Regions from separate parts of the Homo sapiens genome. Here region 2 is linked to region 1. Evidence: promoter capture Hi-C in 16 types of primary human blood cells and fetal thymus (Javierre and others, 2016). All regions are on one chromosome and are shown on one strand. Each heading gives the region's core, a stretch centred on a gene start or on the middle of the fragment in contact. The rest is flanking DNA. Distances are from core to core; before and after follow the strand shown.

Evidence for each region. The method cuts DNA at HindIII sites, captures the fragments that hold promoters and counts their contacts. A CHiCAGO score of 5 or more calls a contact.
Region 2: the fragment with the promoter of DYM here is called in contact with the fragment with the promoter of IER3IP1 in region 1 in 2 of 17 cell types (total B cells and naive CD8 T cells); the score reaches 5.6 in total B cells.

Annotation. Positions count from the first base shown.
Region 1 is chr18:47,174,351-47,179,327 of GRCh38, forward strand. IER3IP1 (immediate early response 3 interacting protein 1) reads right to left here and starts at 2,014. Exons shown (of 3, transcript NM_016097.5): 1 at 1,837-2,014. The coding sequence starts at 1,927. RefSeq lists enhancers at 1,923-2,042, 2,053-2,182. The HindIII fragment of the contact is 4,620 bases long and covers 585-4,977 here.
Region 2 is chr18:49,457,625-49,462,893 of GRCh38, forward strand. It overlaps DYM (dymeclin), which reads right to left and starts at 3,021. Exons shown (of 18, transcript NM_001353214.3): 1 at 2,774-3,021. RefSeq lists a silencer at 2,420-2,999. The HindIII fragment of the contact is 8,649 bases long and covers 1-5,269 here.

The DNA.
Region 1 (4,977 bases), core at 764-3,263:
GCTACGTAAGTATTAGCTATTATTATTGTTGTCATACCCACTTGTATCTACTTGCCCTATTTAGAATTGTTCTTCCTTGGGAGGCCGAGGTGGGCAGATCACGAGGTCAGGAGTTCGAGACCAGCCTGACCAACATGGTGAAACCCCATTTCTACTACAAATACAAAAATTAGCCAGGCTTGGTGGTGCGTGCCTGTAATCCCAGCCATTCGGGAAGCTGAGGCAGGAGAATCGCTTGAACCTGGGAGGCGGAGGATGCAGTGAACCGAGATTGCGCCACTGCACTCCAGCCGGGGGGACAGGGTGAGACTCCGTCTCAAAAAAAAAAAAAAATGGGTCTTCCCACATCCACTGCTTTCCCTTCCAATCTTTCCTCCGTATTGTAGCCTCAAGGATCTTGCAAATAACACAAATCTGGTCATGTCGCTGTCTTAAGACCCTCTTCTCACCTGCCTCAGTTTTCACACCAGGTCTACACTGCTTAAAGCTCTCCTCACCCTTCCAGCTCCTCCCAACCCTTCACCTTCACCGAGTTAATGTTTACTCATGTATCAGATTTCAGGTTAGACACGCTTCCTCCAAGAAGCTTTCGCAGATACACAAGTTAGTATCTGCCCGTACTTCTCTTACATAATACTCTCTATACTTGTTATTGTCATTTGTTTAGTTTTTATTTAGATTAACTTCCATCAGAAGGGCAGAGTAGCTGCTGTAACTTCAGTTACTATAAATGGGCCTGGCACATACTTTGCACTCAATAAATATCTTCTGAAGTAAATGAAATGAATCAATCTTGCTCCTGGGTTTACGTTTCAGTGATTCAAACGGGCATACTTGGTACACAACGTGAGGTCCTGGAAGGTATAACTTGTGTTTTCATTTTTGAATTTCTAAATTCTAGCAGAGTTTTTGGCACACTCTATGCACCCAATAAGCTATCTGAATAAACTTTTCTTGGAACATGAGTGTCTGAATGTCCTGATAACTCCAACACGTTCCCTTCCTGTAATTCCTAAAGCCCAGGAACACTTATTGCCTTCCATCAGTTAGTGAACTACTGATGCTCCAAAATGGGTCACGCCTCCTTCCCCTCCACACCCAACTCGTTTTGTTTTGTTTGTTTTGTTTTGTTAGACGGAGTCTCACTCTATTGCCCAGGCTGGAGTGCAATGGCGCAATCTCGGCTCACTGCAACCTCTGCCTCCCAGGTTTAAGTGATTCTCCTGCCTCAGCCTCCCGCCCGGCTAATTTTTGTATTTCCACCACCACGTCCGGCTAATCTTTGTATTTTTAGTAGAGACGGGGTTTTACCATGTTGGCCAGGCTGGTCCCAAACTCCTGACATCATGATCCGCCGGCCTCGGCCTGCCAAAGTGCTGGGATTACAGGCGGGAGCCACCGCGCCCGGCCCCACACCCCCAACTCTTAGCCCGAAACTCAGACCCCGGGTTTTCGACTATTAAAAGTAGTCACAGGACCGCGACACTGCACTTCAGCCTGGGCAAAAGAGCGAGACTCCCCCTCAAAAAAAAAAGTAGTCACAGAAAACTGAATTAAATTACTGACCTGAAGTAATCGCAAGCAGAGGCGTCCCTGACTGACTTCTATATCCCTCCACCCCAACCCCCTGGGCCCTGCACAGCGGGTGTCTGTTGAATATTCTCCCGGCTGTTGAGCCCAAACCTGATGAGAGGAAAGGCTCGGCTTCCACTCCAAGCCGAGCCTTCCGCTGTTCTTCTGTCCCGGCCCTTGGTGTCCCCTCACGCGGCCCCATTAGGTTACGCGCCCCCGGGGACTCCGCCGCCGCCCCAGCCCGCGCCCCGCGGTCCCACTCACTGTTCTTGAGGAATCGCTCCTCGTGCAGCACTGCGATGGCGTTGACGCAGAGCAGGGCTGCCTGCAGCAGTGAGTACAGGGTAAAGGCCATGGCCGTCCGAGGCCGCCCCGAAGTCCAAGCGATTTCTCTCCCGCCGCCGCAAGGGACGTGGCGCCTCCACGGCCGGCGCCTTCCTACGGAAGCCGATGGGGCCCAAAACGAACTCTCCGGGAAGCCCCGCCTCCATCTGGCTAAGAACCGCCCCTCGCTGAAGACTGCAAGTCCTGCCGCTTGTCTAGACCGGTGATGTGCAATCAATGCTCTGATGTGGCCAGTGCTGCAGGTGCAAAATACACACCGGATTTCACACACTTGGAACTGGAACAAGGATGAAGAATATCCCAATAATTTTTTTTTTTTTGAGATGGAGTCTGGCCCTGTCGCCCAAACTGGAGTGCAGTGGCACGATCTCGGCTCACTGCAAGCTCCGACTCCCGGGTTCACGCCATTCTCCTGCCTCAGCCTCCCAAGTAGCTGGGACTACAGGTGCCCGCCACCACGCCCGGCTAATTTTTTGTATTTTTAGTAGAGACGGGGTTTCACCGTGTTAGCCAGGATGGTCTCAATCTCCTGACCTCGTGATTCCCCCCTCCTCGGCCTCCCAATAATTTTTAAATGTTGATAACATGTTGAAATGAAAATATTTTGAGGCCGGGCGCAGTGGCTCACGCCTGTAATTCTAGCACTTTGGGAAACCGAGGCGGGCAAATCACCTAAGGTCAAGAGTTCGAGACCAGTCTGGCCAACATGGCAAAACCCTGTCTCTACTGAAAATACAAAAATTAGCTGGGTGTGATGGTGGGCTCCTGTAATCCCAGCTACTCAGGAGGCTGAGAGAAGAGAATCACTTGAACCCGGGAGGCAGAGACTGCAGTGAGCCGAGATCCAGCCTGGGTGACAGAGCAAGAGGAAAGAAGGAAGGAAGGGAGGAAGGTTTCTTGTTTATTTTTAATTATTTTATTTAATGTGGTTATGAAGATACTGTAAATGACATGTGACGCTTGCATTATATTTCTATTGCTCAGTACTGCACTTGATGCTCCCAGGAGATACAGGAGATACTAATATTCCCATTTCAGATTTCAGAATGCTAAAACAAAATAACTGTTTTAAAATTACTCAGTGAGAAACATCCCCTCCTTGACCAAACTCCAACCAAGATCCTCTGAGCCTCTTCTTTTTTTTTTTCCCCCCCCAGGAACAGGGTCTTGCTCTGTTGCCCAGGCTGGAGTGCAGTGGCACCATCATAGCTCAATGCAGCCTTCAGCTCCTGGCTCGAGCAGTCCTCCTGCCTTAGCCTCCTGCTTAGCTGTATGTGATGGTTAAGACTGAGTGTCAACTTGATTGGATTGAAGGATGCAAAGTATTGATCCTGGGTGTGTCTGTGAGGGTGTTGCCAAAGGAGATTAACATTTGAGTCAGTGGGCTGGGAAAGACAGGTCCACTCTTAATCCAAGTGGGCACCATCTAATCAGCTGCTGGAGTGGCCAGGATATAAAGCAGGCAAAAAACCAATGAAAAGGGTATGCCAAGACCAGCTCGGTTGGGGAGACCCTAACCCAGCGGTGCTAGAGGAATTAAAGACACACACAGAGGTGTGAAGTGGGAAATCAGGGGTCTTATAGCCTTCAGAGCTGAGATCCCCGAACAAAGATTTACCCACGTATTTATTAACAGCAAACCAGTCATTAGCATTGTTTCTATAGATGTTAAATTAACTAAAAGTATCCCTTATGGGAAATGAAGGGATGGGCCGAATTAATTGCAGCAGGAACACATCCTTAAGACACAGATCTCTCAGGCTTTTGTTTGTGGCTTAAGAATGCCTTTAAGCAGTTTTCCAACCTGGGTGGGCCAGGTATTCCTTGCCCTCATTCCCGTAAACCCACAACCTTCCAGCTTGGGCGTTAGGGCCATTATGGACATGTTATAGTGCTGCAGAGATTTTATTTATGGCCAGTTTTGGGGCTAGTTTATGGCCAGACTGTTGGGGGCTTGCTCTCAACAAGGGTAGACTGGCTTAGCCTCCCAGCCTACATCTTTCTCCCATGCTGGATGCTTCCTACCCTTGAACGTTGGACTTCAAGTTCTTCAGCTTTGGGACTCAGACTGGCTTCCTCAGCTTGCAGACGGCTTATTGTGGGATCTTGTGATCGTGTGAGTTAATAGTACCGAATAAGCTCCCTCTTTGTATATATATCTCCTATTAGTTCTGTCCCTCTAGAGAATACTGACTAATACACTCTATTACAGGAATGGGTCATCCCGCCAGGCTGAGCCCTCTTCTTGACAACACCTCAATATTGGCCACTTAAAAACTACAGATTCTCAGCCTGGGGAACATGGCAAGACCCTGTCTCTACCAAAAATACAAAAAAAAAAAAAAAATGCCTCAGCTTAGTGGTATACACCTGTGGTCCCAGCTACTAAGGAGGCTGAGGTGGGAGGATCACTTGCACCCAGGGAACGGAGGTTGCAGTGAGCTGAGATTGAGCCATTGCACTCCAGCTTGGGTGACAGAACAAGACCCTGTCTAAAAAACAAAACAGGCTGGGCGCGGTGGCTCACACCTGTAATCCCAGCACTTTGGAAGGCCGAGGCGGGTGGATCACAAGGTCAGGAGATCTAGACCATCCTGGCTAACACAATGAAACCCCATCTCTATTTTTTAAAAATACAAATAAATTAGCCGGGCATGGTGGCGGGCACCTATATTCCCAGCTACCCGGGAGGCTGAGGCTGGAGAACGGCATGAACCCGGGAGTCGGAGCTTGCAGTGAGCCGAGATCACGCCACTGCACTCCAGCCTGGGTTACAGAGTGAGATTCCATCTCAAAAAAAAAAAAAAAAAAAAAAAAAAAACACTACAGATTCTCCACACAAATGATATGCATATTGTGTATCTCCTTTACCCAACACTAAAACACTTGAATACTAACATAGTTTCTTTTTTTAATTGTATTTATTTATTTTAAGACAAAGTCTTGCTTTGTCACCAGGCTGGAGTGCAGTGGCAGTGGTGCCATCTCAGCTCACTGCAATCTCCGCCTCCTGGGTTCAAGCGATTCTTCTGCCTCAGCCTTCTGAGTAGCTGGGACTAT
Region 2 (5,269 bases), core at 1,771-4,270, 2.3 Mb after region 1:
TAAGTCTCGGCAAAATATTCCAAAATACACTGTGGTAGGTAGAATAATAGCCTCCAAAGATGTCCACATACTAATCCATGGAAGCTCTGATTATGTTGCTGGGAAAAGAGACTTTGCAGGCGTGATTAAATTAAGAACCTCGAGGGGGGATTTATCCTGAATTAGCTAAGTGGGCCTGATTTAATTACATGGGTCCTTAAAAGCAGAGAACCTTTCCCACTTGTGGTCAGAGACTTGAGGATGGAAGTATGATCAGAGAGATGCAACACTGGTGGCTTTGAAGACAGAGGAGGTACGCCACAAGCCAAGGAAAGTGGCAGCCTCTAGAAGCTGGAAGAGGCATAGATGCCCCCTAGAAACCTCCAGAGAAGAACACAGCCTTGTTGACAGCCAGTGAGACCCACTTTGACTTCTAACCTACAGAACTGTAAAATAATAAATGCATTGTTTTAAGCCACTAAATTTGTGGTAACATGTTACAGCAATCATAGAAAACTGATACATAACATTAAACAACTTCTAATAATATGTGAAATTATCTAGAAAAGCATAACCAAATTGCCCAAATATTTGGAGCAATATAAGAAAGAGCCATTTGTACATGTTGTAACATATTTCACTTCTATTTCTCTCCTGCCCTCCATTCATTAAAAAGCCTACCAAAGTGACAATTCTTCAAACTTTCTGTAGAAAAATGAGCCATATTAATAAAAAAAAAAGGAACAATCAGGATGGCAGGATCTAATGGAAAAATCAGGAGATAATTATGCCACATTTTTCAGAGTCAAACATAAAAGCGTTTGCACTGTTTATCCTCTTTGTATCAAATGGATTACCACACTTTTTTAAAGTACAGTAAATCTTTCTAGATATTAAAAACTATTAATTTTTATGTGTGATAATGGTATTCTGGGCCTATTAAAAAGAGCAGGCCAGGTGCAGTGGCTCACCCCTGTAATCCCAGCACTTTCAGAGGCTGAGGTGGGTGAAATGCCTGAACTCAGGAGTTCGTGACCAGCCTGAGCAACATGATGAGACCCCCGTCTCTACTAAAAATACAAAAAATTAGCCAGGCATGGTAGCACGTGCCTGTAATCCCAGCTACTCAGGAGGCTGAGGCAGGAGAATTGCTTGAACCCAGGAGGCAGACGTTGCCGTGAGCCGGGATCACGCCACTGTACTCCAGCCTGAATGACAGAGCGAGACTCTGCCTCCCACCACCACCAACAAAAAAAAGCAATTCAATCTTCTACAGATATATATTGAAATATTTACAGATGAAATTGAATGTCTATGATTTGCTTTAAAATAATTGTGAGTGGGGATAGGAATGCATAGGGACATAGATGAAATTAAATTGGCATGAGTTAACTGCTGAAGCTGGGTAATGGGTACATGGGAGTACCCTTTATTATTTCACTGTGTGAACTTTTCTATGGTTAAAAGGTGCAAAAACATAAAAACTCCTTGACCTATATGTCGTAACAACACAGACTTCTTAATAGCTGAATCTCCTTCCTATTAACATTGCCCCAACTCAGTTCTCTGCCATTTAATCCACTTGCGACTGATAGTTTCATCAATTATTCCAACTCATTTTGCCCTATGTACTCAGTTTATGAGCTTAAGGCAGACACCTAACCTCTAAAAGACTAGTTCTTCATTTACAGAATGGGAATATTCATACTTGTCCGGTCTATCTCCAAGTTGCTGAGAGGATTATCTAAAATAAAACTTCAAAGCAGGATAATCACTCCAGAAATCCATATATTCATAAATTTCATCCTCTGCAACAACCATTCACCCATTCCTATAGATTCTCTTCCCTTCCACCTCGTTCTTCTCTTGAGCCCTCAACTCATCAGCCTAAGCACCTGAGTTCCTCTGGTGGACGCTACATTCCTCTCCACGGCCTCCACCCTCCAGGTTTTCATCCTTCAGCACATCACCCTTGCTCTACACACCCCTCTCTCCAACTTCCCCTCTCCTCTTTCAAGGAACTCACTCCATCTGTGCCCCCTAATCAGTCTATCCTGGGTACCCGCTTTGCTGGCCGATTACAATCATCCCATCACTTCTCTACCCCTGTTCAGTAGAGAACAGCTTTATCCAATCAGCTTTACCACACCAATACCCTCAAACCCCACTACTGCCCCCAGTTCACAAACACCCACCCTTTCACTTTTCAGTCAAAACACAATTGCTCAGGCAAATCCACGGCGACTGAAAGTAGATCAATAGTGTAGGGGAGAGAAGGAGGAGTGACTGCTAATGGGTACGAGCTTCTTTGGGGCGGGGGGGGCGGTGATTAAAAATGCTCTGGAGTTAAGGGTGGTGATGGCTGCTCAACCCTGTGAATATACTAAAAACCACTGAGTTGTACTTTTAAAGGGTTAATTTTCTGATATGTTAGTTATACCTCGATAAACTATGAATGTAAAAAGAAGAAAGAAAAACCCAACAGCTATTGCTCACCCTGCCCATCACACGCCCATTTGTCAGACCAACACCGCCCCATCTCCGGAAGCACCGACTTGGCCTTCGGTATCCCCCAACTCCCAACAGCGGACTCGGACAGAGGTCCGTCCGCTGTCAGCACAGCCCCTCCGGGTGGCCCAGGCGCCCGCGGGCAGGGAAGGGAGGGTCCCTTCGCCGCCGCCCCGGGGCGCTGGCCGGGTTGCGGAGGGTGGCCCCTGACCCCCTCTGACAGGAGGCCGGGGACAGCCAGGCTTTCGGGCCCGGCCGCGCTGAGGGGGGCGGCGCTACAGCCCACCTGTCTCAGCCGGCTGGGGGATCTGCTCCAGCTCCACGGACCCGCGGACGGATGGGAGGGTGGCAGAGGGGTCAGGAGAAGTCGCTGTCGCCGCCGCAGCCCAGGTGGCGCACACCGGCTCAGGCCTCCATGTTTCCACGTCTCAGCGGGTACAGATCCGGCTCCGGTCCGGCCTGCAGCTCGGCCCCGGCTCGGCTCCAGCCCGGGCCGCGTCGGTGCGGAGGCCAGGAGGCGGCGAGAGAAGAGGGAAGCGACCGAGAACGCGGCTAGGGACCAGACCCCCAGGCGCGCGCGCCAGCCAGGTGGTCACGTGGCACGCGGCGCGCGCGGGCTTCTGGAAACTGTAGTCCTTTGGGTGTTATTCGTGCCTCCGCCCTCCTAGTACCTCCTGGGCTACCGCAAAGCCACGTGGCGAAATCGAGAAGCGCAAAAACAGCCGTGCGCGGTGGCTCACGCCTGTAATCCCAGCACTTTAGGAGGCCGAGGTGGACGGATCACGAGGTCAGGAGATCGAGACCATCCTGGCCAGCATGGTGAAACCCCGTCTCCACTAAAAATACAAAAAGTAGCTGTTTGAGACAGGATAATCGTTTGAACCCGAGAGGCGGAGATTGCAGTGAGTCAAAAAGTAGCTGTCTGAGGCAGGAGAATCGTTTGAACCCGAGAGGCGGAGATTGCAGTGAGTCGAGATCGGGCCACTGCACTCCAGCCTTGCGACAGAGCTCGACTCTTCTCAAAAAAAAAAAAAGAGAGAGAGAGAGAAGCGCAAAAACCTCACCTGCCGGGTGCTAGAGTCAACCTCACCTGCCAGGTGCTAGAGTCCTCGCTCATGCTACACCGCTCGTTCTGGCGGCTTAACCTTATTAAGGCCTCTGTTAATTGCAGCTGAATAACCATCCCAAAGTCAAGCAATATTGTGTGGGATTCTGGAGAATTGAGAAATAGCAAAATAATTTTTGATGGAGGCAGCTGGCAGGGCTAGCCCTGCCTGCAAAGTTGTCGGAAAGGACAGGTCCCACGGGAAAGAGTAGCAATATGAGATAGTGCCAAAACTATGGAATTTGAAGTCAAATGAGCTGAGGTTTCCACACTGACGTCTTTGAGCAATTACTTCACCTCTCTCAGCCAGTTTCCTCACCTAAAATATATGCATGATGATGATTCTGCCATTACAGGAAATGTTGACATGACTGTAGTAATAACAATTCACATTATGGATTATTTTCTATTTGCCATGCACTATTATTTCGCAAAATGACCCTATGGAACAGATAGCACCGTTATTCCCATTATATAGTCAATATGTGCCAGTGTACTCTGTAAAGTACTATACAAATATTAGGTATTCTTTTCTAGCATAGACTGCCAGTAAATTCACTGAGCTTGCAGAATTATGACAGGAAAACATATTAAAACCCAAAGTAGACTGGGCCCTGTGGCTTATGCCTGTAATCCCAATACTTTGGGAGGCTAAGGTGGGAGGATCACTTGAGCCCAGGAGTTCGGAAGGACCAGCCTGAGCAACATAGCGATACACTGTCTCAACAAAAAATACAAAAATTAGCTGGGAGTGGTTGGCACACCCTCGGTCCCGGCTACTCGGGAGGCTGATGTGGGAAAATCGCTTGAGCCCGGGAGGTTGAGGCTTCAGGGAGCCATAATCTCACCATTGCACTCTACCCTGGGCAACAGAACGAGACACTGTCTCAAAAAAAAAAAAAAACCCCAAACTACCTAACTAAAAAGCCATAGACACTACTATGCAGTCATTGTAAAGAATGCTATGGATGCATATTTATTTGAAAACATTTTCATGATACACTGAGTGGAAACATATATAGTATCAAATTTTCATAAGTGAATTATATTAGGTTGGTGCAAAACTAATTGTGGTTTTGCCACTTAATATAATATTTATATTAATATATTAAATGATATATTAATATAACATATGTAATATATGTTTACTATAATATTTATAATACCTATGTATATGTGCTGTTGGAAAAAAGACAAATAATATTAACAATATTGCAACTTTGGGTAATGAGATCCTGTGTGGTTAAAATTAGTTTTTCCCTATGTTTTCTAATTTTTCTGCAAGGAATATGAAGTACATGTACAATTTTATTTTAAAATTACAGCAAAAAGAGACTCAGGGCTGGGCGTGGTGACTCATGCCTGTGATCCCAACACTTTGGGAGGCCGAAGCAGGCAGATCACCTGAGGTCAGCAGTTTGAGACCAGCCTGCCCATCATGGCGAAACCCCGTCTCTACGAAAAATACAAAATTAGCCAGGCATGCGCCTGTAGCCCCAACTACTCAGGAGGCTGATGCAGGAGAATCACTTGAACCCAGACGGTGGAGGTTGCCACGAGCCGAGATCATACCCCTGTACTCCAGCCTGGGTGACAGAGCCAGACTCTGTCTCAAAAAAATAAAAAATAAAAAAAGAGACTCAGGCATGAAAACCTAACTCAAAATATTTTTTAATA